Linked DNA regions of Homo sapiens: regions 1, 2, 4, 5, 6 and 7 are each linked to region 3. Evidence: promoter capture Hi-C in 16 types of primary human blood cells and fetal thymus (Javierre and others, 2016). All regions are on one chromosome and are shown on one strand. Each heading gives the region's core, a stretch centred on a gene start or on the middle of the fragment in contact. The rest is flanking DNA. Distances are from core to core; before and after follow the strand shown.

Evidence for each region. The method cuts DNA at HindIII sites, captures the fragments that hold promoters and counts their contacts. A CHiCAGO score of 5 or more calls a contact.
Region 1: a fragment that was not itself captured here is called in contact with the fragment with the promoter of PODXL2 in region 3 in 5 of 17 cell types (endothelial precursors, M1 macrophages, M2 macrophages and 2 more); the score reaches 7.2 in endothelial precursors.
Region 2: a contact is called between a fragment that was not itself captured here and the fragment with the promoter of PODXL2 in region 3, in 1 of 17 cell types (erythroblasts). The highest score is 5.3, in erythroblasts.
Region 4: a contact is called between a fragment that was not itself captured here and the fragment with the promoter of PODXL2 in region 3, in 1 of 17 cell types (M1 macrophages). The highest score is 5.4, in M1 macrophages.
Region 5: a contact is called between a fragment that was not itself captured here and the fragment with the promoter of PODXL2 in region 3, in 9 of 17 cell types (M2 macrophages, megakaryocytes, erythroblasts and 6 more). The highest score is 12.9, in M2 macrophages.
Region 6: a fragment that was not itself captured here is called in contact with the fragment with the promoter of PODXL2 in region 3 in 2 of 17 cell types (megakaryocytes and erythroblasts); the score reaches 6.4 in megakaryocytes.
Region 7: a contact is called between the fragment with the promoter of KBTBD12 here and the fragment with the promoter of PODXL2 in region 3, in 4 of 17 cell types (M2 macrophages, M1 macrophages, endothelial precursors and 1 more). The highest score is 8.0, in M2 macrophages.

Annotation. Positions count from the first base shown.
Region 1 is chr3:127,952,302-127,955,001 of GRCh38, reverse strand. All of the region lies in intron 4 of KBTBD12 (kelch repeat and BTB domain containing 12), which reads right to left. Among named protein-coding and RNA genes, the nearest start is that of KBTBD12, 38 kb to the right of the region's middle. The HindIII fragment of the contact is 1,080 bases long and covers 830-1,909 here.
Region 2 is chr3:128,039,187-128,041,886 of GRCh38, reverse strand. The region is part of intron 2 of LOC102723759 (a long non-coding RNA gene); the gene reads left to right. Among named protein-coding and RNA genes, the nearest start is that of SEC61A1, 12 kb to the left of the region's middle. The HindIII fragment of the contact is 1,837 bases long and covers 477-2,313 here.
Region 3 is chr3:127,627,802-127,630,501 of GRCh38, reverse strand. It overlaps PODXL2 (podocalyxin like 2), which reads right to left and starts at 1,317. Exons shown (of 8, transcript NM_015720.4): 1 at 1,213-1,317. The coding sequence starts at 1,282. It overlaps LOC107986126 (a long non-coding RNA gene), which reads left to right and starts at 1,539. Exons shown (of 2, transcript XR_001740892.2): 1 at 1,539-1,696. RefSeq lists an enhancer at 615-674 and silencers at 1,075-1,204, 1,315-1,384. The HindIII fragment of the contact is 9,170 bases long and covers 1-2,700 here.
Region 4 is chr3:128,000,876-128,003,639 of GRCh38, reverse strand. No RefSeq gene overlaps it. Among named protein-coding and RNA genes, the nearest start is that of SEC61A1, 50 kb to the left of the region's middle. The HindIII fragment of the contact is 1,444 bases long and covers 613-2,056 here.
Region 5 is chr3:127,970,400-127,973,099 of GRCh38, reverse strand. The region is part of intron 5 of KBTBD12 (kelch repeat and BTB domain containing 12); the gene reads right to left. Among named protein-coding and RNA genes, the nearest start is that of KBTBD12, 57 kb to the right of the region's middle. The HindIII fragment of the contact is 4,244 bases long and covers 1-2,700 here.
Region 6 is chr3:128,060,725-128,063,424 of GRCh38, reverse strand. The region is part of intron 7 of SEC61A1 (SEC61 translocon subunit alpha 1); the gene reads right to left. Among named protein-coding and RNA genes, the nearest start is that of SEC61A1, 9.6 kb to the right of the region's middle. The HindIII fragment of the contact is 2,196 bases long and covers 293-2,488 here.
Region 7 is chr3:127,913,798-127,916,575 of GRCh38, reverse strand. KBTBD12 (kelch repeat and BTB domain containing 12) reads right to left here and starts at 1,344. Exons shown (of 6, transcript NM_207335.4): 1 at 990-1,344. All of the region lies in intron 3 of LOC107986129 (a long non-coding RNA gene), which reads left to right. It overlaps LOC124909427 (a long non-coding RNA gene), which reads right to left. Exons shown (of 2, transcript XR_007096071.1): 2 at 1,910-2,230. The HindIII fragment of the contact is 5,822 bases long and covers 1-2,250 here.

The DNA of each region.
Region 1 (2,700 bases), core at 120-2,619, 320 kb before region 3:
GTCTTGTGCCTTAGACAGTCTGAGTATAGTGTGACAAGGGCAGCGACTGGCAAAGCAGCATGCTCTTCGTTCTGACCAAAGGATTACATAAACCACTACAAGGAGATGGGATTTTTGCCAGATTTTGAGGATGTTGAGTTAGGCCCTACACGCAAAGGGAACAGGGTAAACAAAGGCACAGGAGGAAAGCATGTTCAGGAAGTGACCCCCAGTCCCTGTGGCTGGCGCTAGGCTTTGTGGGGTGGAGGAGTGGCAGGAGGAGCTGAGGCTGCAGGGGCAGGCTGGGGCCACGTGTGAAAGGTCTACTGCCTCCATAAATAGATTCTGGCCTCACTTTCTATATTTGATTTTGCCTGACCCATCAAGCTGAAGCAACTTTTGAACGCAATTTGACATTTTAAGAACACTTGATGGAAATCCAAAGCATATTCATGAATACACATTTTCATTTCAGAAGGAAGCATAATTTATTCAAGAGCATAACTAATAGTATGAGATCTAAAATGCTTTCCAGTTTATCTTACATGCAAACTTCTTTTCTAAGAGACAGCCCCTGGTACCATATTTAAATCAGTATTTTATAACAGAAGCATTCACCAAGGACTCATAATGAGATTTCAGTGAGGTTGAACCCAGAATGTTCTACCTTCCCCCAAATTTTACTAATAGGAGTCTGTATTTGATTCATTTTCTACTTTATTATTCATAAAATGGATTTAAAACCTTGAAAACAAGGCATTAATATTTTCTACAGCAATAAGATATATTAACCTAAAATTTCTGGACTACCTTTTTAGGCAATTAGGATGTATTTTAGATTAAAGAAGCTTAACTAGCTCTTATAATGAGCTTTCACTGTACAAATGACAAAAGATTTTTCCTTAGAACTAAGGCACCTTCCCTTTGGTCTCCTCCTGCATGTCAGTGGTTCTGTCATTAAACAACAGACCACTCCTTTCTGCACTTCCTAACAAAAATAGTTACGTTCCTGAGAAGGGCCTCAGGAAAAAAAAGTCAAAAGGAAAGCTGGCTGGTTTTAAATACCTGTGTTTCCACTTAGGGTATCATTGACTCATAAGACTTATATAGACTAAATTATTTTAGGCTTTCTAGGAAGTTATCCAACAGAAGAGCCAATTACAGTGTGGCAAAGCTGACAAAATGCACATGTAACCACATGAGCAATGGAGTCACTTGAGCAATCTGGCCATATCTATTCCTTTATTTTTATGTTAAGAAGGCAATTTATAGATTTCCAGGAAAAACTATCCAGTATATGACTAATATGCCCCTTGGCTAGTTTGCCATAATTCCAGAAGCTGTTTTCATCTAAATTCAAATTATTCATGGTATCTGTGACAACACACTTTTTAAAGACAAACATTTACACGAGAAAAATTCAGCATAGGTTTTAACTGAAGTCCATATTCTAAAATCTTTACAACTCAAAGCAAACCTCCAGGGTCAGTGCTAGCCACAATGTCCGGTAATACAATGTTTTCATCTTTAATTCCTATTAGAAGAGTACATTCTGGACAATATTTTCAAAGAGTTCCTTACATGAAAATGTGTACCTGGCTCCATACAGAAAAGCAGGCTGTGTGAATGTGCAGTAAGTATGTCATTAGCGCATGTTTACAATAGGAGGAAATGAAGAAAGTAGAAAGACTCAGTCCTTTGACTCCCAACGCATGAGGACAGAATGACCTCATCTCAGTATGCCTCCTCATTTGGGCCTGGCAGGGCATTAACAATAAGATGACGGGCTGAACATTATTAGGACACTAAAGCACAGTGGACTCTTTGCCACTTACTATAAGCAATAATGATTGTTATAACTCTCATCTATTGAGCACTTCTCATATGCCAAGCACAGTGTTCAGCATTTGGCATAATACTCTCTTAAGCTTTGCAACAACTGCATGAGTTAATAATGTATTATTATCATCCTTATTTTATGAATAAAGAAAACAGATTTAGCAAAATTCAGCAACTTGCTCAAAATCACATGGTGCTATTAAGTTGCAGAGATAAGATTGGTCTGCAGAAGGACCTTTCCTTTCTGTGGCTTATTTCTGTTAAAGAATACACCTGGGAAACCTTTGTACACATGAGATTTACTCAGAAAATTTATAAAAAATGTAATAAGGTAAAGGCAAGGGCCATTAACCAAATGATTCCGATTATCCTGCTTGCCTAAATCTTTCCCTGTGGTGGTTAGATGCTGCCTGTTACAGTAACTCCTCATTTAACAGGAAGTCAGACGATTGCTAGTGCCCAGAGCACAAGTGAAAACCCTGAGCAATGTAAAACAAGTGTCTGAGTATTGGTGCTGTGATAAAAGACCTTGAATTTTATTCTGAAAAAACTGGAGACATTGTTAATGACACAAGGTCTAATGGCCTAACTGTATGTGTAATCTAAACATATGTACAATTGCCTGCATATATAGTCTTGTATGTAAAATCTATTTATATGTATGATTGATGCATAATCTTGTATGTACAATCTGGTAACATAACAGGGAGAGAGCAACAAGAAAAGAAATGGTAACCAACAGCAGTGGGAAGGAGAGGAAAAAAACCCATGAAACCCTGTAATTTGTGGCCTTCTAGTTTAGGGAGCAAATACAGTAGTACATTACTCAATGGCCAATGGACATCACTCACATATAGAGAAGCACAATTTTTGATGCTCTTA
Region 2 (2,700 bases), core at 146-2,645, 410 kb before region 3:
TGGGATTACAGGTGTGAGCCACTGTGCCTGGCTAGAAGGTCCTATTATTAACCCCATTCTACAGAGGAACCTTGTAAGCTAGGTTCAGGAATTTGCCCAAGGTTTTTTAGCTATTAAGTGACATGAACAAATGGGAACCATAACCTTTGGGGATACTTTGCTGTGGCATTTTAAAAGTAACTAGTCTTGGGATACAGAATTACTGTAATCCTGCAGTGGCAGAGGGCAGGGAGCTGTGGGGGAGGACAGACCATTTCATTTTGAAAAACTGTCTCCAACCACACACCCCCGGCTCCTGCCTGCTGCCATATAAAATGCTTACCAGAACCCCAGAGCTGAGAATACAACCAGCTGTCTCATTTACTATTCTTACCCTCTAGGAAAGAGACAGAAAAATAAACACTCTGGAGTGTATTTTAACTCCAAATAATTTGAATTAAATATAGCAATTGTGAAATGTGTCATATGGACAAGCTTTGGAACCAAGTGGTTTGTTTATTCACTAAGTAGATATTGTCTGAATGTGGTAACAGAAGTTTCTTCTAGGGACCTGTCAAGGTACAAAGGGATTGTTCCTTGGATTTTTTTTCCTATGAAATTAAATAGTGGTAATACTATGATAAATGCTCAATATTCTGGAAGGACTTCAAGCTCATTTTCTCCAATCGCCTCAGCCTCATAGAGCATTAGTAGTCTGCTGTCTCTTACTGTAGGATGTTTTTGTGGCATTGGAACATCTCTCTAAAGGCTAAGAGCCCTCATAAAGTTGCTTACTTCAAAACTACGAATTTCAGATACTTTAAAAGAAATTTGATCAATCACAAACCCCATTTTCCCTTTGATAGGCTTTCATGATAGGTTTTGCCAAAACTTGCAGTGGCTGGCTGTGGTCTTGGAAATTTAGATTTGGGGAAGCATTTATTGTCACTATGTCTGAGCCAGGTCACTAGGCTGTGTGTGGTAACCAACATTATTCTCATAAGATATTCACTACTCCTTGCTCAGATAGCTTAACAGCAACCTCAGCTATCAAGAGTACAGCCTAGAGGAAGTCAAAGGAGGTGCGCTGTGGCTGCCCAGAGCTCATGCCCTTTACTCTTCAAAAAATTATTTCAGAAACTATTTGCTTCATAGAGGCACAGTTGAGTGTATGTATAGATTGTTTTCTGAGAAATAATTTGAATATTATCAAATTCACCTATTTAAAGTGCACAATTCAGTGGCTTTTAGTATATTCACACTTTTGTACAAACATCACCACTATCTAATTTCAAAACTTTTTCATCAACCCAAGATAAACCCCATATCCATCAGCAGTCATTATCCATTCTTTCTCCTTCCACCCCAAGTTGCTGGCAACAACTAATCTATATTCTTTCTATGGATTTTCATTTTCTGAACATTCCAGACAAATGGGATCATATAATATGTGGTCTTTTTTCACTTAGCATAATGTTTTCAAGGTTCATTCATGGTGTAGCATATATCAGCATTTCGTTGCTTTTTGTGGCTGCAAAATATGCCATTGTGTGGACTGTAGAATGGGACATGGCACTTACCGTTTCAGCAGTTGCTTCCACTTTTTAGGTATTATGAATAATGTTGGTATGAACATGCACACACAGGTTTTTGCATGAATCATTTGCTTTCAATTTTCTGATATATGTAGGAGTGGAATTGCTCGGTCATAAGGTAAATCTATGTTTGACTTTTTGAGGAACTGCCAACTGTGTTCCAAAGCAGCTGCACCATTTTACATTCCCACCAGCAATGTAAAAGGGTCCCAGTTTCTCCATATCCTCAACAATACTTGTCACTGTCTGTTTCTTTATTATAACTAGTTTAGTGGATGTGAAGTGGTAACTCATTGAGGTTTTGATTTGTGTTTCACTAGTGATGCAAAACTAATGATGTTAGACATATTTTTGTATGTTTATTGGTCATTTGTATGTTTTGTTTGGAGAATATTCAAATACTTTGTTGATTTTTAAATTGAGCTGTTTGTCTTTTTATTGTTGAGTTGTAAGAATTCTTTATATATTCTGAATATAAAGTCCCTTAACAGATATATGATTTGTAAATATTTTCTCCCATTCTGAAGATTGTCTTTTTACTTTCTTTTTTACCACGCCCAGCTAATTTTTGTATTTTTAGTAGAGATGGGGTTTCACCATGTTGGCCAGGCTGGTCTCGAACTTCTGACCTCGTGAGCCACCTATCTCAGCCTCCCAAAGTGCTGGGATTACAGGCATGAGCCACCGCGCCCGGCCATCTTTTCACTTTCTTAAGGGTAAACTTGGAAGCATAAAAGCTTTTAATTTTGAAGAAATCCAATTTTTTTTTCTTTTGTTGCTTGTGCTTTAGGTGTTACATCTAGGTAATTATTGCCGAAGCCAAAGTCAAGAAGATTTACACCTATGTTGTCCTCTAGAAGTTTATAGTTTTAGCTCTTACATATAGATCTTTGATTCATTTTAATTTTTGTTTGCATATCAGTGTCTAGCTGTCCCAGCGAGAGTTGTTGAAAAGACTGTTCTTTCCCTCATTGAACTGTCTTGGCATCCTTGTCTAAAATCAATTAACCATAAATGTATGGATTTATTTCTGGATTCTCAATTATATTCTGTTGACTTATATGTCTCTCTATCTTTATGTCAGTACCACATAGTCTTGATTATTGTACCTATGCACTATGTTTTG
Region 3 (2,700 bases), core at 68-2,567:
AAAGTGCCTGTGTCTTCATGGGCCAGCTGCGTGGGAAATGTCCTGTGCACACTCCTACATGCACATACACACTCCTACATGCACATACACACATCATACTAGGACGCTATTTTGACGTGTGCATCAGAAGTGAAGTTACAGCTGGCTGATGAGTGTGCACAGGCACACATGCACACTTCCTCATCCGGGTATTCCTCCAGCAGCACCAGTCACACCTTAACATACACCGTAACACACTCCCTCTGCTCTGCCAGTGTGTGCAGGAGCTGCTCAGCTATGACCTTATTTGACCCACCTTTGCAGACAGCCCTTCTCCCCGCCATTTCCATAGTGGCCGCCTGCCTCATGGGCTGTCACACCCCATGCCCACCTCCCTACACACCCCCTCCACTAAATCCCCGTCTGCGCTGGAAGCCATCAGGAGGCCCGTCTCTTTCTCTCTCAGGCAGACACATCCCTTTCACACCTGTGCCACACCCCCAGCCCGCCACGCACCCACACAGCCCGCCGCCCGGCGTGGCTGCTGAATGGAAACCACACATCTGAGTCTCACACCTCCCTCGTGTGTGAGCTGCGTGGGAGCCTCCCGCCGTGTGCTGTCACGGGCCTTCCGTGGCTGTACGCCCGTTTTTGTCAGCTCCTAATAGAGTCGCCCAGAACAGGAGAGAATACCCATTCACCGTGACACACTCACACTCCCTCCCGGCAACGCCACGCGTAAACAGCCACCCGCGCCTCAGCGTACCCGCCCCACACTCCGCAGGCGGCCCCTGGGACCTTCACAATGCGGCCTCCTCCCCGCGTGGCTGTCACACACGCCTCTTCCCCCGAGTGCGCAGGCACACAATGCACTCGCACACACACAAGCACACGCACACACATGCACACCCACACGTGCGCGCCCCCCCGGCCCGCGAGGCAGCAGCCTGCGCACCTGCCCCTGAGAGCCGCGGCGTGGGGGCCACGGTGCTGTGTCCCAGCTTCACCGCCGCGCCTTTGTCGGGGGTCGCCCGGCACGCCAGGCGCCCGCCGCGGCCCCCACGCACCCACTCCTCGTGCGCGTGTGTCGGGGCGGCGCCGCGGCCCGGCCGGGACACGCGCGCTCCCGGCGGCGCCGCACTCTGGCCCCTTTGTTGGCGGCCCGGGGAGCTGTCCAGCACCGCGCCCACGCCGCCGCCCGCCCTCCCGCGCTCGGGCCCGGAGCGCACTCACCCCCAACCAGCAGAAGCAGCAGCGGCGAAAGCAGCGGCGGCAGCCGGGCGGCCCGCAGCAGCCGGCCCATGGTGTAGCCGTCGCCGCCTGCAGCCGCAGCGGCGCGGCGCCCGGGCCCGCGTCAGGGGCCGCGCGGGCGGCGGCGGCGGCGCGCGCCCGCCCCATTGGTCCGCATGGCCGTCACTCACGCCCGGCCCCGCCCGGCCGCGTGCCGCGGGCGCGCCCCCGCGGAGACGAAGCGGACGCGCGGGCGGCCGTCCCTCCGCCCGTCCCCCCCGCCAGGCCGGCCAATCAGCACCGCCGAGGCTCGGGGGCTTGGCCCGGCCGCCCGCAGACCTGGGCCTCGCACCTCGCGCCCGGATGCCGCTCTCTCCCCGCGCGGTCACCCGTTCCCTGGGAAGCAGAGTGGGCAGCTGTGGCAGATGGGACTGATGGGACGAGGACGACGCGTGGAAATGACTGTGAGGGTGGACAGAGGCCTGGGGTAAGGAAAGACTTCTCAGGGTACTTAGATTGGGTGAGCCCTGAAGGAGAACCTGAGAGCAAAGAACTGGACTTTAGAGCTAGGCAGTCTGGCTCAGGATCAGATTGGTTCCGAGACCTTGAGTAAATCTCTTCTCACCTCTGGGCCCCACTTGCCCCATTTGCTAACTGGGGGGTTTTAGATTATGAGAGAGGTGCTGACTTCTCTAACATGTGCTCCCTTTTGGCAACTGAAGATCCTTAATATGCCAAGCACTGTAGTGGTAAATAAAACAGGCACATCCCTCGTCCTCATAGTTTAGGCTCGTAGAGAAAACAGACTGAAAAACAAAATGGACACACATATGGTCCTATGATTGCAATTGGTAGTCGGTCTGTTAAGGAGTATAAGGGGCTAGGAGACAGCACAGAGGGGAACCTTATGCTTGCCTTCCTGAAGAAACAGCATTTAAGGTAAGCTGGCTGGCATCTGGAAGGATGAGTGGGTATTAGGTAGGAGATTGGGTTTGGGAGAGAACTTACAAGGCAGAGGGAAAAGCTCACTGATAGAGTTCCTGAGTTAGAAAGAAGCTCAGCCTCTTTTAGGGAGAGAAAAACCCCGACTACCCTTTTAGAAGTACTGCAGCTTAAATATACAGCAACCACAATTTTGTGGAATGTTACTTTATATATACCATATTAGGAAAACACTTCTTTAAAATAACAAATCGTTATTTGAATATGCTTTTTCAAAGTATATCCCCACCCCCCTATGCAGGGGTATAGCATCAGACATTGGAGATAATCTCACGGGACTCTTCCAGACTAAATATTAATACTTAGGAGAAATAGGAGTTGGGGTGGAGGAGCATAGGGAAGAAATGGGTTCCAGACAAAAGAAAGAACATGAGCAAAATGTAGCACCTTTTATTTGGTGGGTGTTAGGGGTACTAGAAAAGTGGCTGTCAGCTGGGCTTGGAAAAGAGAAATCCAGGGTGTGTCTAGACCCAGCTTCCCTCTTCTTTC
Region 4 (2,764 bases), core at 85-2,584, 370 kb before region 3:
GAACTCCTGGACTCAAGTGATCCAACCACCTCGATCTCTCAAAGTGCTGGGATTACAGGTGTGAGCCACCGCACCCTGCCATGATGTAAGCATTTAAAGTTGTAAAGTTCACTATAAAAACTGATTTAGCTGCTTCTCATAAATTTGATAGGCTACGTTTTTATTTTTACAGAGTTAAAAATATTTCTAATTTCTCTTATGATCTCTTCTTTGACCCATGGGTAATTAAAAGTGCTTTGTTCAATTTCCAATTGTGAGGGATTTAAATGATATCTAATTGTTACTGATTTCTTTTTAAACTATATTTTAGTTAGAGAACATACTCTGCCTGTTTTTAGCGTTTAACATTTATGAAACTTGTTTTGTGGTCCAGCATATGGTTTATTTCGATGATGGCTCTATGTGCGCTGAGAATGGACATTCTGCCATTGTTAAGCGTGAGATGGTTAAATTGGCTGACCGTGTTCGAGTCTTCTGTGTCCTTATTGGAAGAGGAGTGTGGGAATCATGCATGAGAATTGTGGATTTGTCTGTTTTTCCTTTCAATTCTGCGTGAGAATCACACATGAGAATTGTGGGTTTGTCAGTTTTTGTTTCATGCGTTTTGAAGCTTTGTGATTAGGCAGATGCACATTTAGGATTATGATGTCTTTGTGATAAATTCACACCTTTATCATTAAGAAACATCTCTATCCCTGGTAATGTTTGCCCTGAAGTCTACTTTGTCCGACAAGAATATAGGCACTCCGGCTTTTGAAAAAATGACTAGTGCTTGCATGATATATCTTTTCTATCTTTTTATAGTTTATTTGTGTCTTTATATTTAAAGTAAGTTTCTGGTAGAGAGCATACAGGTAAGTCTCACTTTTTTTGTCCAGTCTGATATCTGATTTTCCAAGTCCCTCGATTATTTATACTGAATGCAGGTATCCTTATGTCTGTATTTATACCTGCCATCCTGCTCTTTTTTGAGACGGAGTCTCACTCTGTCGCCCAGGCTGGAGTGCAGTGGCGCGATCTTGGTTCACTGCAACCTCTGCCTCCCGCGTTGAAGTGATTCTCCTGCCTCAGCCTCCCGAGTAGCTGGGATTACAAGCACGTGCCACCACGCCCGGCTAATTTTTGTATTTTTAGTAGAGATGGGGTTTTATTATGTTGGTCAGGCTGGTCTCGAACTCCTGACCTTGTGATCTGCCCGCCTCAGCCTCCCAAAGTGTTGGGATTACAGGCGTGAGCCACCGCACCTGGCCTTCAACAACAAATTGTTAACAGTTTTACCTTCCAGAGCCAATTATGTTCCAAAGAGATTCAAAATGAGAAAAGGGTTTTCATATGAGTGATGCATTTTCCATTTCCCAAACTCTTCATTCTCTCCTGTAGTTCCAGGCTTTTCATCCGATATCATTCGCCTTTGGTGTGAAGAACTCCTGTCAACATTTCCCGTATTGCAGGTCTGCCGCTGGCAAAATCTCTAGCTTTGGTTTGTTTGGAAAAGTCTCTATTTTGTCTTCTTTGGTTGCAGGATATAGATTTGTAGATCCCCGGCTTTTTCTTGCAGATGCTGTTTCATTGTCTCCTTGTCTGCAGAGTTTTTGAGGACGTGGCCATTCTTGCTTCTGTTTCCCTTTACCTCGCATTCTCAGCCATTTCATTAGGATGTGCCTTTGCTAGTTGTCTCAGGCTGGCTTCCCTGGAAGCAGATGAAGGAGTGGAGTCTGGGGCACCAGGTGTTTCACACTTGTGACAGGAGGAGGCAGAAGCAGGCTTGGCAGTGGAGTTCAACCTCGGTCAGGCCTGCCCACCTCTGCCCACCTGTTGGGGACTCCAGAGCAAGGCCTTCCATCAGCATGTTCTGTGCTGAGCTGAAATGGCCAGATCTTCACATTCCCTGCCTGCTCAGTCACCTGGGCTGTCTGGGAAGGTGTGGCCTTTAGCCAGTGGCTCTCTCTGCAGGTGAGGGATGGGGAGGAGCTGGTGGCTGAGGGCGTTCTGCAGCCTGCGCTCCCCACAGCCTCTGGGCAAGTCCTTCCAGGAGGGGATGCTGAGGGACAAAGCTTCCTGCTTCTCAGGCGGGGGTCCTTGAGCTCCCTGGAACTCTGCATCTATGATTTTCATCAAATTTAGAAGATTGTCTTCCAATGTTTTTCTTGTCTCCTTCCTGGTACCCTAATGATACATGTATTGTTTGATAGTATCTCACAGGTAACATTTCCAGTTCTGTTCATTTTATTTCAGCATTTTTCTCCCAGTGCTTCAGTTCAGTTTCTGTTGCATTGTTTTCAGGTTCATTGATCTTTCCTTTGTCAGTGTGTGATATGCTGTTAATCTCAGTCAATACGTTTCTCATTGCAGGTATTGTATATTTCACCTGTAGAAATTCCATTAGGTTCTTGGTTATATTTTCCATATTTCTCCTCATTATGTTCATGTTTTTTTCTTTAAATTCTTGAGCATATTGAGCATATGTCTAATAGCTTCTTATTTTATTATTAGTTTTTTTTTTTTGGAGACAGATTCTCGCTCTGTCCCCCAGGCTGGAGTGCAGTGGCGTGATCTCGGCTCACTGCAAGCTCCGCCTCCCGGGTTCACGCCATTCTCCTGCCTCAGCCTCCTGAGTAGCTGGGACTACAGGCACCTGCCACCATGCCTGGCTAATTTTTTGTATTTTTTTGGTAGAGACGAGGTTTCACCATATTAGCCAGGATGGTCTTAATCTCCTGACCTCATGATCCACGCAACTTGGCCTCCCAAAGTGTTGGGATTA
Region 5 (2,700 bases), core at 168-2,667, 340 kb before region 3:
TCATTATTAATGATGATTATTTGATTACAGCGGTGGCTATCCAATTTCTCCATTGTAAAAGTACATATTTTTTCATGTTGTAATTAGTCTGTGATTTATCAGGTAATATGTCTTCAGTGCCATGTGACTATCCTGTTCTTTATAACCTTTCAACCGATGCTTTTAGCATCCATTGATGATTTCTGACTGAACCAACTATTATACAAATTAGGATCTTGGCTATCCTTCTATCATGACTTCTACATTTATTACCTGGCTTTTGATTCAATGTGTTTCAGTCAATTATAGTCAATTACGATTTTTGATGTTTGAATTATTTTGAATCTGGCCAGTGACTGCCCTTTCAGGCTGGTTTCTCTGTCTTTTCATGACTCCCTTAAGTCTTTGACAATGTACCTGCTTTCTGGTGTAACAGGATATCTGAACCTTACCTTGCAATTTCTGTGCTCCAAACCTAGAATCAGCTATTTTGTGAAGAAGCACAACTACATTCTAAGCAGCTAGCTGAGTCCATCATCCAACAATACAGCAACTTCCTTATTTTGCCCTCAATGAGCTCTGTTAGGGCTGGAACCAAACATGTTTGTATGTGTATCTTTGGGGTTTAACATGGGCTTACTACCTAGAAAGGCATTCAATAAAGGTTTGTTGAATGAAAACCCAACAGACATCAGCCAGGCTCTTAACCCTGACTGCATGTTAGAAAAATCTGAAGATTTTTAAAAAATATTGATGCCCAGGCCCCATAACCAAATATTCTGATTTGATTTGTCTGGTATGGAGAGACAGTTTAGCCTACTGCTAAAAATATAGACTTTGGGGCCAGACTATCTAACTTTGAATCCCAAATTCAACATTTACCCTCTGTTTGACTTCTTTAGATGGCTTCAGTTTCTGCACCTTTAAAATAAGGGAAATAATAGTTGCAGGCTGTTGAGAGAATCAAATAAATTAACACATGCAAAGTGCTTAGAATTTTCCCTAGCACAGGGTAACCAGGTAACTGTCAGCTGTCAATTTTAATCTGCATTGGTTAGTAAAAGAATTCATTTTTGAAGTACTTCCCAGTGCATTTTCTCTTTCTGATAATTCAGATTTGTCCTCGACAGGCTTTTCACCATTAAGACTGTGCCACAAGACTAAACTAGAGGAGGCAGAGGGGTGATTTGAGGGAAGTTCTTGCTGGACAGATGGAGGAGGTAGAGAGCATTTCCAGTCCTGGGTGAAGGAAGGAAGATTTGGAGGGGCTGATACTAAGGTGAAAATGTTGTTTGGGTCCCCTAGAAGTTAGCCAAAGAAGATGATGAAAATGGCTCAGATGGGCTGAAGGCAGAAGGGACTTAGCCTGGACTCTGGGAAGAAATCCCCCTGCCCACAGCGGGTCCCACTGGCAGCCAGTATAGAGTTGAAGTGGAGAAACAGGAGGCCTCCCTGCTCCCTCAGCCTGCTCCCTGAGCTCCCCTGCCATCCTGGAGGAAGGGAAGACAGCCACAAGTGGCAAACAAGTGTGTACCGATGGGCTGCCATAGTAGGGAATGGGGGGACCCTGCACCAGAGTTCGGGGAAACAGACAGAAACCAGAGCCTGGCAAGAATATGCAGTTGAGTCTCAAAGGGCCAACAGCTGGAACAAGAGCCAAAGTGGGGGCTTTGTCAGCAGGGAGAAGGCTGAGCCCTCTGGGAGCAACTCCTCTTTGTGAGATATACAAGAATCCTGAGGGCACACTTGAGCTAGAAAACATGAGAGTGGCTCTTCGGTATTCAGTTCATTATGATTATCACCAAGATGCCCTCTGTCCAAGCCCACAGGGTCCCTTAAAAGGCAGGATTTCTGCGTGCCAACCACAGGAATCTTTTGCAGGTACCTAAGGCCACAGTGTTGTCATCCCTTGGATGTTCTTATAGCAGGGAATAGTTTCCTGCCACTAGGTGTCATCTGCCACCACTGTCTTCTCTGTCTCAGGAAGCCTAATTCTGTCTCTGGAATGGGCCATTTCTGCCTCTTTCACTCAAGGAACCTGCCTCTAAGCACCCTCACCATGGGCAGTTCAGCTTAATTCTCCTCATTAGTGTCAAACACCAAGCTGATTACTGTGAGGATATAAGAGAAGGAGTTCTGACTTTTTCACTTTAACAACAGCTTTATTGAGGTATAGTTCATATATCATAAAATTCACCCCTTGAAAATGTATAAAAAAATGGTTTTTTAGTATATTCACAGAGTTGTGCAGCCATCACCACTGTCTAATTTCAGAACATTTTCATCACTCCCAAAATAAATCCTCTGCCCATTAGCAGTCACTACCCATTCACCCTTTCTCCATTTTCTGGCAATCACAAATCTACTTTCTGCCTCTATCCATCTGCCTTTTCTGGACATTTCATATAAATGGAATCATGTGATATGTGGTCTTTTGTGATTGCCTTCTTTCACTTAGCATAATGCTTTCAAGGTTCATCTATGTTGTAGCAACTGTTAGTATTTCATTCCTTTTTATTGCCAAATGATATTCCACTGCTTAAATAGACAGTATTTTACTTATTTGTGTATTTTACTTATCTGTCCATCTGTGGATGGACACTTGGGTTGTTTCCACTTTTTGGCTGAGACGAATGCTGCTGCTGTGAACATTCAGGTACAAGGGTGGGCATATATTTTCAATTCTCTTGGATATATACCTAGGAGTGGGATTGCTGCATC
Region 6 (2,700 bases), core at 141-2,640, 430 kb before region 3:
CGGAGGTTGCAGTGAGCCGAGATGGCGCCAATGCACTCCAGCCTGGGTGACAGAGCAAGACTCCGTCTCAACAACAACAAAAAGTCAAATAGGGACTGTATTTGATGGCCACTTTGGAGTACAATTAATTTTACATGACAGATTAAATAGGAAAGCTGAAACTGAAGGTCAGACTGTACTTAGAGGACCCATCTAGTACTGTGGAACTTGTCAAATGTGTCCATTCCCTTGTGCCTAACAGTGAAATAGAGTGAGATGTAAGAAATGAAGACACCCTACAAAAAGGAAAGCTTCTATTCAACCAAAATAACTTGGTAGCTGAGGGAATGGGAAGAGTAACCAAACTGATGGTATGTGGGGTTTGCCTTTTAAAAGCACATTAAATAAAAACTTGAGAAGGGATCACTTTAACCCAAAGGTAATAATTCTGTCCTCTGGACCCAGATCTGGATGGTGAGCCTAGAGAGGTGGCCCAAATCTGTAGTTCAGCTCAGGAGCCATCCAGACCCCAAGTGCCTGACATTGAGTTTCGGTGCTGCAGGTGTGACATCTCCAGATTGTGTCTCTGGATGCTGTCAGGAGTAGGTTCTGCTCCCTGATTTTCCTTTCATAGAACAAATCTTCCAACTTTCACTTTTACTCCTCCCATGACTAAAAAGCAAGTGAATCTAGGAAAAGGTGAAACTAAAGAACTCAAAAGCACTGTTCCCAAGTTTCTAACACGTGATAGCTAGGACCACCTGCTACATCTTCCTGGACCATTCCGAGATGACATGTCAGGCAGACCATCTAACCAATATGACCACTGACCTCCTCTGCTGTGGCTTCTGTGAAAGAGACACCATATCCTAACTGGCCATCATGTCCTCATCTCACCCTGTGGCGGTCTTTCGTCAATTCCCATCCTTTCCACCTTTTGGTCCTGTGTGACAAGGCTGGCCTGTTTCCCCACGGTTTCAAATTTGGGACTAATTCCCAGTTCTGCATTGTTCCTGCTGCCCAGGGAAGCAGCAGTGATTACTGTCTCTGCCTGTAGAATCTCATTCAACAGCCTCCCCTGTCCCAAGCCAAGCTGCAACATCTCCAGGCACAGCTGCAAAGCTGCCGTCCCAGCTGTGCCCTCTGTGTGGCTCTCCCTGCCCCTCCCTAGGCTCTCCCTCTAGCACCACTCACTGCCCACATGCAGGCCATGGGGCACAGCCCTTCCTGAATGCATCTCGTGTCAGCCAGGTCCCAAACACGAGCAACTGACATGTAGACACACTGACTTCAAGGCCAGACAAATCCACCTTTGCTTCTTAGTTTTCCCCCACCTTGAAAGTGCCTCTCTGGTCCCCTCTCTCAACTTGCTTCCTCCAAATGCCCTCACACAGTGCTCTCCTGTAGGATGGCTTAATTGGGGCTGGATTACTGCTGCACGCACCTAGCTGCTCTCTCTGCCTTTCAGTGCAGAGCAAATCACTTCTTCCAAACTCTGGCTCCCATTACTCAATGCCCTGCTGCAGAATGGAACATGAGCCTCTGGCGGCTACTACTGGGCTGCTAAGCCACCAGGGGCTCCCCTCTGACTTTACTTCCTTCCCACTCAGGCACTCCCCAAAAGCCAGTCACCATGATGGTCTTGACAAATACCTGAACTCCTACAATGCCATCCCCCTCTTGCCTTTTCACATCCTGTCAAACTTTGCCTTCTGGACCTGCTTCTCCCAATTTACCTTGGATTTCCTAAATTTATACAAAGTACTCAAGGAAGCATCAAATGTGATCTTGCCCACTCTTCTCTATGGCTCCCTATCTCAAGCTCCACTCTCCTTTGTAACCTGTTAGGCACATGCAGCCTTCACTTGTTTGGGGACCAGTTTTCCATCTCATTAATGAGATAATATGGTCTCTGGAGGCCAAGGACTCTGTTTCCAACATTCAATTAAAAGAAAACTCTCAAATATGCATGATTATTTCTCCTGGAATGCTCCTCAGTGAAGAAGATATTTAGTGCCAAAAAATGTTTATTTCCTTTCCCTAATAAGTCACACTCTCTAAGGCTTCCCTTGTATGTTTTGAACTTTTTATTAAAAACATGCTGTTACAAGATTTCCACGGCACTTGGTGGATGTAGCACAGCATGCCAATGTTTGATACACATCTACCAGGAGCCAGGCATCATGTAATTTCATGTTGCTTCTCACTGCATCCTGGTAACCAAGATTCAGTGGTGCAGGAATCTGCCCAAAGCCACGTATGTATGACTAACAGGAACAGCCAGGATTTGAACGCAGGTGCTAAGCTCCAAGTTCAGGCCTTTTTCAGAAAGCTGCCCCTTGCATGACCAAGTGCTTTGGTTTAGGAATTTCATTTTTAGAAACTTATTCACTGAGAGCAGCTGCCAAAATATACAAAGATGAACATATGAGGACAGTCATGGTTTCAATGTTAACGATAAAAAAACCTGGAAATGACTTAACGTTGCTTTATCGTTGCAATATAAGCTTATACTGTGCTAAGAAAAGTGAGGCAGGATTGTGTATTCTGACGTGCCAAACGTCCAGGAGATATTTTTATATGAAAAGTGCAAGTTAGGTATCATCATAATTACAAGCCTATTTGTGTTTTTAAAACTTTGCAGATGGACCCAAACACCAGAAGAGATAAACCTAAAACTGACATTATTTTTCTGTGGAATGGGGGGATTTTTGTCTTCTG
Region 7 (2,778 bases), core at 95-2,594, 290 kb before region 3:
CTGAGTACCCAGCTGCCACCTCTCAGCTGGCACATCTGCTGGGCCCCATTATCCTCTTTGAGACCTGAGGGACAGTCATTATTTGTAATTCTTACGCTGTTGCTTTTCTCTTTCCTGTCCATTTACATTATCCTACAGCCATTTAAGTTTGTGACCCCCAGTTTATACGATTACGTCTCCACACCCTATTTTGTTTCAGCAACACCATCTTGCTAAAATCCTACGCTTGCAGAGGCTGGTAGGAAATGGCTGAGAACACACGCACCACCCTAAATGTACTCTGTGCTTCTCACTAGCATGGAAAAAGACCTGATTCATTTCATAATAATCCATCCCACACACCGGGCATCCAGTAACAGCCAGGCACATGGATGATAAAGACAAATAAGACCAGTTTTCTTTTCTTTTCTTTGCCGAGTTCACACTGTTTTGCATTCTCACAGTGCTTTATACTTTTCAAAGTGCTTTAATCCGCATTATAGCTCATTAGTTCCTCTTAAGAATCATTTGGGGGAAAATGTAGGGCAATTATTCTCCTGGCTTTAAAGTTAAGAGAGTTGCTCAGGGATACATTCAGGGTTTATTAAACTTAAACGAACCCTTCTAAGTGCCAGGCACTATCCTAGGTTCCGGGAAGACAACCAGGAACAGGGAAGTGCCCCTTACCTTTGTTGTGCTTACAGTCTAGCGACGGAAGGCACAATAATACATTGGTCAGGTAATTCGGAGGATGATAATACTATGCAGACTACGAGCCTGAACAACCCGACGGTGAAGGTCGGAGACGGCAGAGATGGCCTGGAGGAGCAGCTCCTGGGAGCCCCACCTGACGCCAGGCGCCGGCCCACTGCGACTCGAAGGAAGTCACTTAGAGCCGAGGCTGCAAGTGCCGGTGGCCCCGGGTCGGCGCCCAGGTTCAACCTGGCCCGGAGTTGAGGCAGGGCTTGTGACTGGGGGCCGCGTTCCCCCGGGGCGCTACCCCTACTTACGAAGGTGCTGCCTGGTTCGGGGCGCGTCCCCACTCGCTGGGCCACGACCTGGCTTGGACGCTACCGTGTGGCAGGGCGGCCAGCGGGCCTGACTGAGGCCACTGCCCAATATGGGCCTGTGCTGGCTGGGCGATATAAATAGAGGTCCCGCGCCCTGCGGAGGAGGAGGGAGGGCGCTGGCAGCGCCTCCGAGGGGACAGGTGCTGCCCTCTGCTTGGAAGTGGCCCGAGACCACGCCGCCGCTGCCCTCCAGCCACTGTGCGCCTGCGCACCTATTCCCGCGCTGGTTCCAGACGGCGACTACAGCCCCGGTGTCGCTGCACAGGGTCTCCCCGCGCGCGTCCCGTACCCTACTGAGCGTCCCCCGCGGAACGCTGTGCGCCTGCGCAGAGTGTTCCCGCGCTGGCCCGCGTGCCAGAGCGACTGAAGGCCTGCGGGGAGGGGATGGGGACAAGTGTTTAAAGGAGGTTTGGAAATCGAGCTTTGAAAAATGCCGGTGTTCCCGTTAGTCTTTTACACTTGCAAAATGACCAAAAGACCCCGTGTGTAGTCTCACTGTGACCGGGGGGTAGGGTTGCCCGGTAAAATACATGAGCCCAGTTAAAGGTAAATTTCAGATACACAACCAGTAATTTTTAGTGTTAAGTATGTCCCAAATATCGCATGGTCAATTCACGTTTAACTCGGTGTTCCGGTTGGGTTTCGTTTTGGTCTTGTATTTTTATTTGCTACATCCTGAGCCATCAGCTTGTGATTTTTATACCCTACACCTCTCTGAGAGTGGGAGGTTTCCAGGAGTCCCGAGAAAGGACTGGTTAGCCGGGAGCAGTGCAGGGATGGGAAGTCTTCCTTAGGCAAGTGTCATAAAATACGGCAGCTGTATTAGCTCAGTTAGCTTAAACCAAAGCAAAATAAAACTGTTTTCAGTGGTGGCAACATAACTTTATTATCTTACTATTATTTTAGCTCTGTAGGTCAGAAGTCCAAAATATGTCTCACTGGATTGAAATCAAGGTGTCAGCAGGACTGTGTTTGTTTCTGGGGCTTCCTGGAGTGAATCTGTCCCTGCCCTTTTGCAGCTTCTGGAAACTGTCTTCATTCTTTTGCTCCTGGCTCCTTCCTCCAGCTTCAAAGCCAGAAAATAGGGCTGAGTCTTTCTCACATGCATTGTGTCTGCAGTTGGTTCCTTTCAGTGGGCTTGTGGTCTCCATCTCGCTAACTTCAAGAATGAAGCCACGGACCTTAAATGTTAAAGAAAGCTTTAAAGGTCACATGGACCCAAACAGTGAGGAGCAGCAAAATTTATTGTGAAGAGCAAAAGAACAATGCTTCCACAACCTAGAAATGGACCTGACTGGGTTCCCTGTGTTGACTGGGTGGCCAGCTTTTATTCCCTTATTTGTCCCTGCCCATGTCCTGCTGATTGGTCCATTTTACCAAGTGCTGATTGGTCCATTTTACAGTGTGCTGATTGGTCCATTTTACAGAGTGCTGATTGGTCCATTTTACAAACCTCTAGCTAGCCACAGAGAGCTGATTGGTGTGTTTTTACAGAGTGCTGATTGGCCCATTTTAGAAACCTCTAGCTAGCCACAGAGCGCTGATTGGTGCGTTTTACAATCCTAGCTGCAGAGTGCTGATTGGTGCATTTTACAATCCTCTTGTAAGACAGAAAAGTTCTCCAAGTCCCCACCCAACCCAGAAGTGCAGCTGGCTTCACCTCTCAGCATCACTTTGACACTAACTCTTCTGCCCACCTCTTCCTTTTTTTTTATTGTGGTAAAATATA